Linked DNA regions of Homo sapiens: regions 1, 2 and 4 are each linked to region 3. Evidence: promoter capture Hi-C in 16 types of primary human blood cells and fetal thymus (Javierre and others, 2016). All regions are on one chromosome and are shown on one strand. Each heading gives the region's core, a stretch centred on a gene start or on the middle of the fragment in contact. The rest is flanking DNA. Distances are from core to core; before and after follow the strand shown. Region 1 overlaps GNG12-AS1 (GNG12, DIRAS3 and WLS antisense RNA 1). Region 2 overlaps SERBP1 (SERPINE1 mRNA binding protein 1). Region 3 holds the start of SRSF11 (serine and arginine rich splicing factor 11). Region 4 holds the start of GADD45A (growth arrest and DNA damage inducible alpha).

Evidence for each region. Contacts are between HindIII fragments. The CHiCAGO score rates a contact against its expected background, and 5 or more counts as called.
Region 1: a contact is called between a fragment that was not itself captured here and the fragment with the promoter of SRSF11 in region 3, in 1 of 17 cell types (neutrophils). The highest score is 5.1, in neutrophils.
Region 2: a contact is called between a fragment that was not itself captured here and the fragment with the promoter of SRSF11 in region 3, in 5 of 17 cell types (total B cells, naive CD4 T cells, naive CD8 T cells and 2 more). The highest score is 9.7, in total B cells.
Region 4: the fragment with the promoter of GADD45A here is called in contact with the fragment with the promoter of SRSF11 in region 3 in 6 of 17 cell types (naive CD8 T cells, non-activated CD4 T cells, monocytes and 3 more); the score reaches 11.4 in naive CD8 T cells.

What each region holds. Positions count from the first base shown.
Region 1 is chr1:68,118,224-68,120,923 of GRCh38, reverse strand. All of the region lies in intron 7 of GNG12-AS1 (GNG12, DIRAS3 and WLS antisense RNA 1), which reads right to left. It also overlaps a transcript of WLS not described here. Among named protein-coding and RNA genes, the nearest start is that of MIR1262, 64 kb to the left of the region's middle. The HindIII fragment of the contact is 8,968 bases long and covers 1-2,700 here.
Region 2 is chr1:67,418,107-67,420,806 of GRCh38, reverse strand. It overlaps SERBP1 (SERPINE1 mRNA binding protein 1), which reads left to right. Exons shown (of 8, transcript NM_001018069.2): 6 at 621-798. Among named protein-coding and RNA genes, the nearest start is that of SERBP1, 11 kb to the left of the region's middle. The HindIII fragment of the contact is 871 bases long and covers 903-1,773 here.
Region 3 is chr1:70,219,939-70,222,682 of GRCh38, reverse strand. It overlaps SRSF11 (serine and arginine rich splicing factor 11), which reads right to left and starts at 1,303. Exons shown (of 12, transcript NM_001350605.2): 1 at 844-1,303. The coding sequence starts at 1,046. RefSeq lists a silencer at 919-968 and an enhancer at 864-1,409. The HindIII fragment of the contact is 2,724 bases long and covers 1-2,257 here.
Region 4 is chr1:67,683,759-67,686,458 of GRCh38, reverse strand. It overlaps GADD45A (growth arrest and DNA damage inducible alpha), which reads right to left and starts at 1,258. Exons shown (of 4, transcript NM_001924.4): 1 at 921-1,258; 2 at 333-434; 3 at 1-109. The coding sequence starts at 964. RefSeq lists enhancers at 1-4, 35-84, 1-287 and silencers at 185-324, 395-524, 995-1,154, 1,345-1,404, 1,415-1,594. The HindIII fragment of the contact is 4,802 bases long and covers 1-2,167 here.

The DNA.
Region 1 (2,700 bases), core at 201-2,700, 2.1 Mb after region 3:
GGGACATCTTTAGCTTTTAAAAAAGTACAGTTCGAAATATAAAGTAAAAGCAGTTAAGTCTTTTCCAAGTACAAAGTGAATTGGTTCCAATTGCTAGAGAATTTACAAATATATATTCACCTGAGGCCAGAAAAAGCTCCTTTGGCCTAGGCCTCTCTCCTTTATCAAGCTCTCTCCATCACGAGTGTGCACATGTGCGCGCGCGCACACACACACACACACACACACAGAACTTAACAGCAGTGATGTGTGTTGTAATATGCAACTTTGTAAGTTACATATCACTCCCCAATACCACCTTCTCAGTCACGGAGTAGAGATCTTACTTCACAAGAAGTGAGACTCAGAGAGGTGAAGTGACCTGTGCAAGGTCACCTATTACAGTGCCAGAGTTGGAACTAAAGGAACTTCAGTCTGTGAACTTCAGTGTCTTTCCAGTAGCATATTTGCAGCAGAAGAGTCAAGAATGTTGTGAGCTGCAACTCTCACTAGAACCAAATGACCTTATTGGGAGATGTTAGTCCAGCCTTAAAAACAAGCTCTTCACCTCCATGAATGGCAAGTGTCTGCCCTCTTCAGGCCAAATCGAGAATGACATCTATAACTGAGCAAATCCTCAGAACCCAAGTCAGACCTTGGATTATTGCTTTTCAGTAAGTTCTGGTCCTGGCTGTGTCTCTAACTCTTGCTGTGGGACCCTCAGGGAAGCTACCCACCCCCTTCACCCCACCTGAATGAGATGATTTCTGAAGTCCTCAGCAGCCCTGATTCTAAGCCTCATAAGGAAGAGTAGGTGTTAATGGCATCCTAGGGCAATGGTAGGCGCCTGATGCAGATCTGCTGTGAGCCATGTGCTGGCATCACAGGGGTGGTTTATTAATTTCATTTATCATCTGGACAGCCCCTTCTTATAACGTACATCCTTGCCTCTTCTGAGGCTCTAAGATCCCCAAGGTGGCTCCTGTATCCAGAAACCCCTTGGCCTTCCCTCCCAGTTAAGCAAGATCTCTCTTCAACTCAGGGATGCTGAGAGATTGAAAGTGAACTACACACAGGAACAGCCAAGATAGGAGTTATTTCTATAGCACCATGCTTGGCTGATGTTCTTTACACGGAGTGGGCAGGATTTTTAAAACAGCGTTTGTGCCTTTTAGCCTGGGCTCCTCCTAAAAGCAGACTCTGGGACAAGGATTTGTGTGCAAGTAGCTGGCTTGAAAGGTGATTCCAGGAAGCACTGAGGTGGCATGGAGAAGCAAGGCTGAGAAGAAGGGAATGCAAAGAACAGCCACCAAGGTGCACGGCCAGGGCCTCTGTCAAGCTGTGAGGAACATGCTGCAGAGTTGTCCCCTGGGGCTGAGGAAGCTGTGAGAGAGAGCCACTCCACTCCCATCCTTTGTAGGTAGAGGGCCACCGCCAGGCTCTTAGCTACTTGGAACTAGGGCCAGCTTGAGGAATATGGGTGAGGCACCCATGGCCTCTGCTACATTGTTTTTAATCCAGTCTCAAAAACAAAATGGTCCTATCACAGAAACTCTGCAAAAATACATGAAAGAGTAAAGAAAAACATGTAAACATTTTACAATTACTCTATCCAAAGATAAATACTGTTAAAATGTCAGTATGTTCTTACACAAGTTTTTCCATGCATATATGTGTAGATTTATATACATTAAGATTGTATTATACATAGAAAATAAATTTCTGGACAGTTATATAACCTGCCCTTTTCAAAATATATCTAGGAAATCTTTCTATGTTATTGTGTTGTCTTCTATAACATGATTTTCATGACTTTACTATTATAGTCTCTAAAAAGGATGGTTCATAATTTTTACTGGACATTTCAGTGGTTTGCAAAGTTTGACTATTACAATATATGTTGAAATGAGCATCCTTGGATATAAATCTTTTTTGTACATCACTGATTGTTGCCTTAGTATCAATTCCTAAGAACTACTGGGTTAAAGATCAATTATTCATTCAATAAGCATATGTTGAACATCTAATATTGGGCCAGGTGCTTTTTTTTTTTTTTTTTTTTTTTTTTTGAGACAGAGTCTTGCTCGTCACCCAGGCTGGAATGCAGTGGCGTGATCTCGGCTCACTACAATCTCCACCTCCTGGGTTCAAAGTGATTCTCCTGCCTTAGCCTCCTGAGTAGCCTGGGATTACAGGCATCTGCCACCACGCCCAGCTAATTTTTTGTATTTTTAGTAGAGATGGGGTTTCACCATGTTGGCCAGGCTGGTCTCGAACTCCTGACCTTGTGATTTGCCCGTCTTGGCTTCCCAAAGTGTTGGGATTACAGGCGTGAGCCACCACAACCAGCCGGGCCAGGTGCTATTGTAAGCATTTGGGGCAGATCAGTAAACAATATCCCTATCATTGTGAAGTATATTGGTGTGGTAAAGGAAGGCGGGAGGGAGGAGGCAATAGATAGTAAGGTGATAGCGATGAAGGCTACACAGAAAAGCATTTATCATGGACACCTGTAAGCATACAGAGCCCTCCAGAACTGTGCCAACAGCAGAATGAGAGAGGCTGTGGCCCGCATCCTCACTGACACTACGTAGTTTTGAAATTTGCAACTTCAAGATGCAGAAATTGAATTTTGCATTTACTTCATTACCAGTAACACTGAGCATGTTTCATGTTCCTATGACTTGATATTTTTAGGTTGTCAGTTCAGATTCTTTATCC
Region 2 (2,700 bases), core at 89-2,588, 2.8 Mb after region 3:
TAGTAGTGAATCCATGGCCTCCTTTCCATATACAGGTTGGTTTGAAAATTGGAGTATAAGGATTTTAGGATTTGTAGAAACACGGCTATTGTTTTGATTTGCTCTAAGTGCTAGTTGCTGAAACAAAGCATAGAGGAACAGTTCTTTTATATTCCAAAATTTGAACCCTGGTTGCTGACAGACATCCTAGAGGATTACCTTCTTGTATGTTATTAAGAGTTACATATTGTGGGAATTATGGAAATTAAAAATGTGGTTTAGGAGAAGATAGGCTGAGGATTTTACATAAGAGGGTAGTTTTTAAACAAGGTAGTGTTTTTAAGAAATGTGTATTTTAGTATTCGTAAAGCCAGTTCTAGATTGTATTACTGATAAATGATCATTTAAGAGTTCATAAGTATGAATTCCATATTCCTTACTTGTCTCTAATTAGCAAACACTGAATTCCTGGTCTCTACCAAGTTGCTTAGTTACATAGGAAACTAGGGTACCCTCATCCTTGAATAATCTTTCTCTAAAAGATTACAAGGTTAATTTTCTCAATTAAAATCATAAATTTAAAATACTTTTATGTAATATCAGCTCTCTACCAGGTATAAAACTTGAAAACCTTTTCACAGGGAGAATGAAGTTGAAGAGGTAAAAGAGGAGGGTCCAAAAGAGATGACTTTGGATGAGTGGAAGGCTATTCAAAATAAGGACCGGGCAAAAGTAGAATTTAATATCCGAAAACCAAATGAAGGTGCTGATGGGCAGTGGAAGAAGGGATTTGTTCTTCATAAATCAAAGAGTGAAGAGGTAAAATTAAGTTTTGTCGTGTTTGAAAATGTTCAGATGTGACTTGAATTGTATTTATAATTTTTGTTTTAAAATTTCACATGGGTTATTTGTCTGTTAAAGCTTTACATAGGATCATTTGGGGCAGATAATTTGCTTTATAAGGAAAATAAACTGTATTATCACATATTCTAAGAAATTTAGTCCTTTGATCAATTTGTAATTATGTTTTATGTGGTAGAGTTACTTTTTCCTAAAAAGCTGTTAGTGGAGTATCTTGTAGTTATTGGTGTTCAGAAATATGATAGTTCTTTTCAAAGTTGTGGTTGTATTTTTGAAATCTTGCCAAACTGGGGATCATTAAAGGGCTGTGGTATTATGGTGTTAGGTTGAAATCTTGACATTTTCATATGGTTTAACCTAAAATGTAAGTGACTTCATTTAGAATTCAACTTTTGAAACTGTCTGCCTATACCATATATAATGGCCAGGACACTCAGTAAATGGCAATGTGCATTTTGTCTAAGGAATGACGACTTTAAAAACCAAAGTATATGTGGGTTTTACTTAAGAAACATGGAAACTAGTGAAAATACAGTTGACTTGTTGAACAACATGAGGATGCTAGGGGCACTGACCCCGCAGATCAATGCACATGTAACCTTTGACTCTCCCAAAACTTAACTACTAATAACCTGTTGACTGAAAGTCTTAGTGATAACATAACCAGTTAACACATTTTGTATGTTGCGTATTATATACTGTGTTTTTACAGTAAAGTAAGCTAAAGAAAATGTTGAGAAAATATATTTACTGTTCATTAAGTGGAACTGGATCATCACAAAGGTCTTTATTTTGGATAGGAAGAAAAGGGATTGGGCTTGCTTGTCTCAAGACTGACAGAGGCAGAATGTTCAAAGCCACGTTGTTCAAGGGTCAACTGTATTGGAGAAAGTCACATTGATGGCTTTTGATTTGGTAGCTTCCGTTTAAGCTTTGGGGTGTGTTCTTAGAGGAATGTTTCAGTGCGGCTTCCTGTTTGGCTTTAAAAACTCATACAAGCCCTAACTATATTATTTCTTCTCCTAAATTCATTTTCTCTATCAGCTTCCTTTAACCTTTTGACATTTGTGTTTGATTTATTCATATCATAAATTGGGCTGTGCCAGAAATCCAGACTGAGTTTTATCATCCTAAGGTAAAGTTAAATTAAAATATTGTGAGGGCAAACCCTTTCAATAAGGTATTAGTTATTTTTATTTTTTTTTTTTGAGACAGAATCTGGCTCTGTCGCCCAGGCTGGAATGCAGTGGCACCATCTCTGCTTACCGCAACCTCCACCTCCCGGATTCAAACAGTTCTTGTGTCTCAACCTCCTCAGTAGCTGGGATTACGGACACTCGCCACCATGCCCGGATAATGTTTGTGTTTTTAGTAGAGATGAGGTTTCATCATGTTGGCCAGGCTGGTCTCAAACTCCTGGCCTCAGTGATCCCCGCCTGCCTCAGCCTCCCAAAGTGCTGGGATTATAGGCGTGTGCCACCATGCCCAGCCAATAAGCATAATTTTTTAAACTGCAAAATGGCTATAAGACAAACTTGGAAACATTTTAAAATAAAATGGAGGTTAAAAAGATTAAAAGTTTTTTTAGGTTTAGAGATGATTTTTAACATTTACTTCATATGAGTAGTAAATGAGGACATTGTCTTTTTTAAGTCCTGTAGAAAAAAAACTGCATTAGAACACGTGGTTTCAGCCAGGCGCAGTGGCTCACACCTGTAATCCCAGCACTTTTGGGAGACTGAGGCGGGCGGATCACCTGAGGTCGGGAGTTCAAGACCAGTCTGACCAACATGGAGAAACCCCGTCTCTACTAAAGATACAAAATTAGCCTGGTGTGGTGGTGCATGCCTGTAATCCCAG
Region 3 (2,744 bases), core at 54-2,553:
AATAAGTCTTCCAAAAAGCACAAGACTATTATTATTATTCCAATTGTCTGTTTTAGTAGTACACTTTATCTTACTTCTTAGCTTCTTTGAACTATTTTTTCTTTACAATTCATCCACTTAATATTCTTGCGATAGAAATAATTTTCAAAATAAAAGTGAGACAAAAAGGATAAAAAGTCATACACTCTAATTCAAATTTCAACATTTATAAAAATCCTTCTCAAGAACAACTGTGAAATATCACAAATCTGTATATTATTCAAACAAAGGAAAATCTCTGGTTTATAACCCGTTTTTTGACATTATACAAATTAAGTAATCAGGCTCACACTAAACTAAGCGTCTGTCAAAAAGAATATGATCTTTGAATTATATTGCTGGGCCAGAACCACATAACAGCAATAACAATAAGTGAACAACCTACAAAGTTTAACACCAAATTAACACAGGCATGAATAATTTTGTTACCTTTCTTCCAAGAACGCAAAGAACAAATACTCAGTTTTTTAAAAAAGGGATTTAACCTATATACGACGTACAGACTGCGGTTAGTCTTGCGTTAAGTCCCCAAAGCCAAACGACCACGTTGGCACAATTTAAGGCGGAAAAAAAAAATTTCCCGAGAATAACAGCCAGTGTTTCCTAATTCCAAAAAGCCCTGGCCCTGCCTCTCTGCATTTTTTTGTAGGCCTGGAACACAACCGTCTTAAGTAAATCCACCAGCCACCAGCCACTCAAGCAGCCTGGCCCGGGGAAGCAGCGACAGGGGCCTAAGGAAATTGTGTGTGTTAGGCCCAGGCTGAGGCGGCGTTAGCAGGAACAGTGATGGTGGACGATACTCACTCCGGCGGGAAGAGGCGCAGTTCGTCGATCTTGCCTAGGAAACCGAAGAGAGTCCGCATCTGCTCAGAGCTAGCGCTCGGGGAGACATTAGTCACCTGGATTACCTCGGTGCCGCCGCCTCCGCCGCCACCACCACCTCCGCCACCGGGCCCGCCGCTGGGGCCCGGACCTGCAGTGCTGGGGACGACGGTAGTGTTGCTCATGGCGCTGCTCGGGTTCTCGCTCCTGCTTTAACACATCAAACACACAACAAACAGTGAGAAGGAGGGGGAAGAGGAACCGGATTGCGGGAGAGAGGAGGGTGTCCGATGCTACAGCCTCTGCTACTGCTGCCGATGCCGCCGCCGCCGCCGCCGTTTCTCCGCCCCGCCGCACGCCGCGGGGGAGGGGATGAGAGCGCGCGAGCTCGAGACCACGAGAAAACAAACGGCCGCCCCACCTCGCCTCCAACCACGACACTAGCGGGCCCGAGCTCCCACAATGCTTTGCGGCGCAGGGCGCGTCAGCGTCGGCTCCACCCCGCGCAGGCCCAGCAGCCGTCGCCTGCAGCCCGAGAAATGAGAGGCACCGGGGTCTAGAGAAAGGTGTTATCCACCTTCGTCTCTCGTTTTATTCTTCTTTTTCTTCTCTCTTTTTTTTTTGGAAGAGCGAAGAGGCACGTATAAACTTTTTTTTTAAAAAAAGCATTCATCCTCCTGCAAAAGTCACTTCAGCAACTCTTCTTATTAAATACTGCTCACGATGTCTTTATATACTGATAATCATCTACAGAGCTATCCGATTACTAATGATATTTAAACCCAAGCTAAGATGCCACCCCACCACCACCAGTATAAAATGTCCCGAAATTTTCAATGTACATGAATTTTGGTAACATTAAATCTGTAACTAATTTGTTTTGTCACTAAAACTTTCAGAAAAGATATATTTTAATATTACACTTATTAATAAGCGTTTTGTACATTCATTCACAATGGATGACTTTTTTTTTTGAGACAGAGTCGCCCTGTCGCCCAGGCTGGAGTGCAGTGGCACCATCTTGGCTCGCTGCAACCTCCACTTCCCCTGTTCAAGCCATTCTCCTACCTAGGCCTCGGGAGTAGCTGGGATTACAGGCGCCTGCCACGACGCCAGGCTAAGTTTTGTATTTTTAGTAGACATGGGGTTTCACCATGTTGGCCAGGCTGGTCTCCAACTCCTGACCTCTGGTGATCCACCCGCCTTGGCCTCCCAAAGTTCTGGGATTACAGGCGCGTGAGCCACTGCACCCAGCCAATTCCACAATAGCTGACTTTGGAAACACAGTTTATAGTACTTAAATATATTCAAGTATATATTTCTAAAGAAAATACTGCAATTTCTCAAGAAAAACTTGTTTCACATACATATTCTTGCTTAAAATAATTTTGAAGCTTTTGACTATTAAAAAAATCCTTGCTTTTGTTTTCAACCTCATCTGAACTATTCTCTCAACTGCATCCAGTGTGTAGTCCAGTGACTTGTAGTGCCCCAAACATGACAAAAACCATAATGTCTCTGTGCCGATACACAAGTTATTAATAACATCACTCATCTTATCTGTCATCTTCTGTAGAGCATTCCTTCCCTCACTGCTATGACTTCTGCAAGCTGTTAGGGCTTCCTCTTTTCTGCTAAGTAACAGAAGATACATGTATTTATTATTGACATGTATCACTCAAAGTTGTGAGCTTCCTGGGTCAGTCCAGAACCTGGCACAATGTCTGTCACACAGTCAGTCCCAATGAATGTGCTGGACACACGCACAAATATACCTTAATGACAATGGCATTTAAGACAGTTCACTAAATAATTCACTTGACCTTGAATGTTTTTAGAGGTAAAAGTTTTAGATGTTTTGGAGGTAAAAACAAACAAACAAA
Region 4 (2,700 bases), core at 9-2,508, 2.5 Mb after region 3:
GTTCTCGCAGCAAAACGCCTGGATCAGGGTGAAGTGGATCTGCAGAGCCACATCTCTGTCGTCGTCCTCGTCCGCCGCCAGCAGGCACAACACCACGTTATCGGGGTCGCTGGGGGCAGCGGGCGGGGCCAGTGAGCGCAGAAGCGCGGGCGCCCTCAACCACTGCCCGGGTCCCTGGGGGTCGCCGCCCGGCCCGCTCGCCCCCTCCCTTCCGAGACAGGCAGAAAAGCGACAGGAAGTGGCGCGGCCGGGCGAGGGGCGCCCAGCCAAGGCGACCTCCCGGGCTGGGGCGGGAAGGGGTGCCATGGGGGACGCGCAAGGGCCCCACTTACACGTTGAGCAGCTTGGCCGCTTCGTACACCCCGACAGTGATCGTGCGCTGACTCAGGGCTTTGCTGAGCACTTCCTCCAGGGCATCCCCCACCTTATCCATCCTACACGCGGGCAAGGGCGAGGGGTCCCGTCAGCCCCGGTGCCCTCGGGGCCATCGCCGCCCCCCTCGTCCGGTACCACGCCCCTCCCTCTCGAATGCAAGCACCACCGCGCACCTGGGCTCTACGAAAACCCGGCGCTCCCGCGGCCCCGTCACCCCCCATGACCCCTGCACGCCCAAGGACCGGGCGTCCCGTGAGAAGTCCCGAGAGTGCCCCTGCCACAGGCTGCCAGCCACGGGAGCCGCACGGGCAGCGACGGCCACTGCTGCCCTTTGCAAAGGCCCCGGCGGGGCTCGTTCGGGTTGGGGGGCACGCTCTTTCAGTCCGTGGGAGCTCCACGGAGAGTCCCGAGGGAGCAAGGGCGGGAGTTGCCCTGTGCAAACTTTTTAGCTTCCTCCCCTGCAAGCCTTCCACAGCCCGGCTGCACCGGGGAGCGCGGGGTAGGTAAGAGAAGTTCGGGCCGGAAGAGTCCGCAGGCCGACTCACCTTTCGGTCTTCTGCTCTCCAGCCGAGAATTCCTCCAAAGTCATATTGCAAACTGCAGGTCGCCCAGGGAGAGAGCGCGGCGTGCGGGCTGCTCCTGCCACGGCTAGCGCGCGGGCGCCTGCTTTCTGCACTCACTCACAGGCGCCGCTCCGGCAGCTCAGGCCCTGGCGCTCTCCGGCCGCCCCTCGCCCGCCCGGGCTCCTCCTCCTGTGCCAGCCGCCGCAGCTCCGGCCACCCCTCCCGCCTTGCTTGCTCGCTCGCTCCCCGGACCTCGCCTCGCCACGGGCCGCACGACACTAATTGGGCCGCTGCCTCCCAGCCACTGCCTACCAGCCACTGGAGGACAAAGGGCCCCGCTCTCCGGGGTTATCCTGCCAACCCTCAGCCAACCACCTTCCGCCTCATTTGCATGCAGCTTGGCCATTGGGCTATGCAAATCAGCCTGCTCCAGCAATTTGACCCCAGCTCCTGGAGTCAGGTTGAGAGGAGCGGAAAAGGGAGGAGCCACGCGGGAGGCGAGCCGAGGGGGCGGGGGCGGGGGCGGTGCCGAGAGGGGAAGGCGGGTCCCGCGCGCACTCTTATCCGGTTGGCGGGGACCATTGGGAGTGGGGGGCTTTAGCAGAGGCTAGAGGTGGCCTCAGCTTGGGCTGAAGCAGGCTGCCAAGTGTTTTTCTATAATAGTTGCGGCACTTTTTTCTTATTATCTTTTCATGTCTTTTGTTTTAAGGGGTGGCTATTAAAATCTATTTCCAGGGTTAATGCACTGAAGTCTAGTAATTATTAGTAAGCAGGTTACATTAAAAAAGTGTCTCCAGACCTCCGGGGCAAAGTTTACCTCAGAAGTGTTGTTTATCTAAGTCTAGGCGAAGCTGCTTATTAGCAGTAGTATTATTTCGGTGCCCTGATGGCTGGTTTGATTTATTTTTGGAAAGCTGCAAGGGTTGGAAGCTGAAAAAAGAAAAACCAACCCGTTTGTATTCAGGGATGGCAGGGAACCAAGTTAGAATCTTTTCCACAGAAAGCAGAACGGTTTCCCACCTGCCCGGTGTAACTGGGAAATCGTGAGCTGGTCTGCGTGGGGAGCTGGTGACCACATGTGGGAATCCCTGGCAACCCAGATTCTCCTTTCTCAAAGAGCCTTGCCCAAACAAGGATCCTTCTGGACGCCCACCAGCTGAGAGACAACCATCTGACACCCACACAGCCCACAAGTCTAAATTCAAAATGCTCTCGATATGCCCTAAGCTTCCTTTCCTAACGTATGTATGTCGTTACCTTCCACAGAGAGCCTCCTATGATCTCACTGTGAATTATTGATGTTAGATGCTGAATCATGAAGCTGTAACTATAGGAAGTTTTTAGTCATATGCTAAAATTTCACCTTTGAGATAATGGCAACTTGTAGGTGGAAAGCAGACCTTTAAAACTGCAAATGGTAGTTACACATTTTTGAAAAACAAACTTTAATATATAGACTCTCACTGAGTAGTTCAAAAGTCCCTTCCTTTGTTTTATGGTTTATGCAATAAAAGCAAAAACATTTCTTAAACCTACTGAAGTCATCAAAAGTGGTGAAAATGGCTCCCACATGCTTGCATTCAAAACAGTGCTTGCATTATTAAGGTTGCTGTACAGCCAAAGGTCACAGAAGTAATTTCTGCAAAGGTACCTGGAAGTTTTGCACCCTTATGTTTTTATCACTCTAGACAAAATATTCTCCAGCTCTCTTGATCTTAATTTGGTGGAAAAGAAAAGTGATAGGTTTTCTGGTTCATTTATT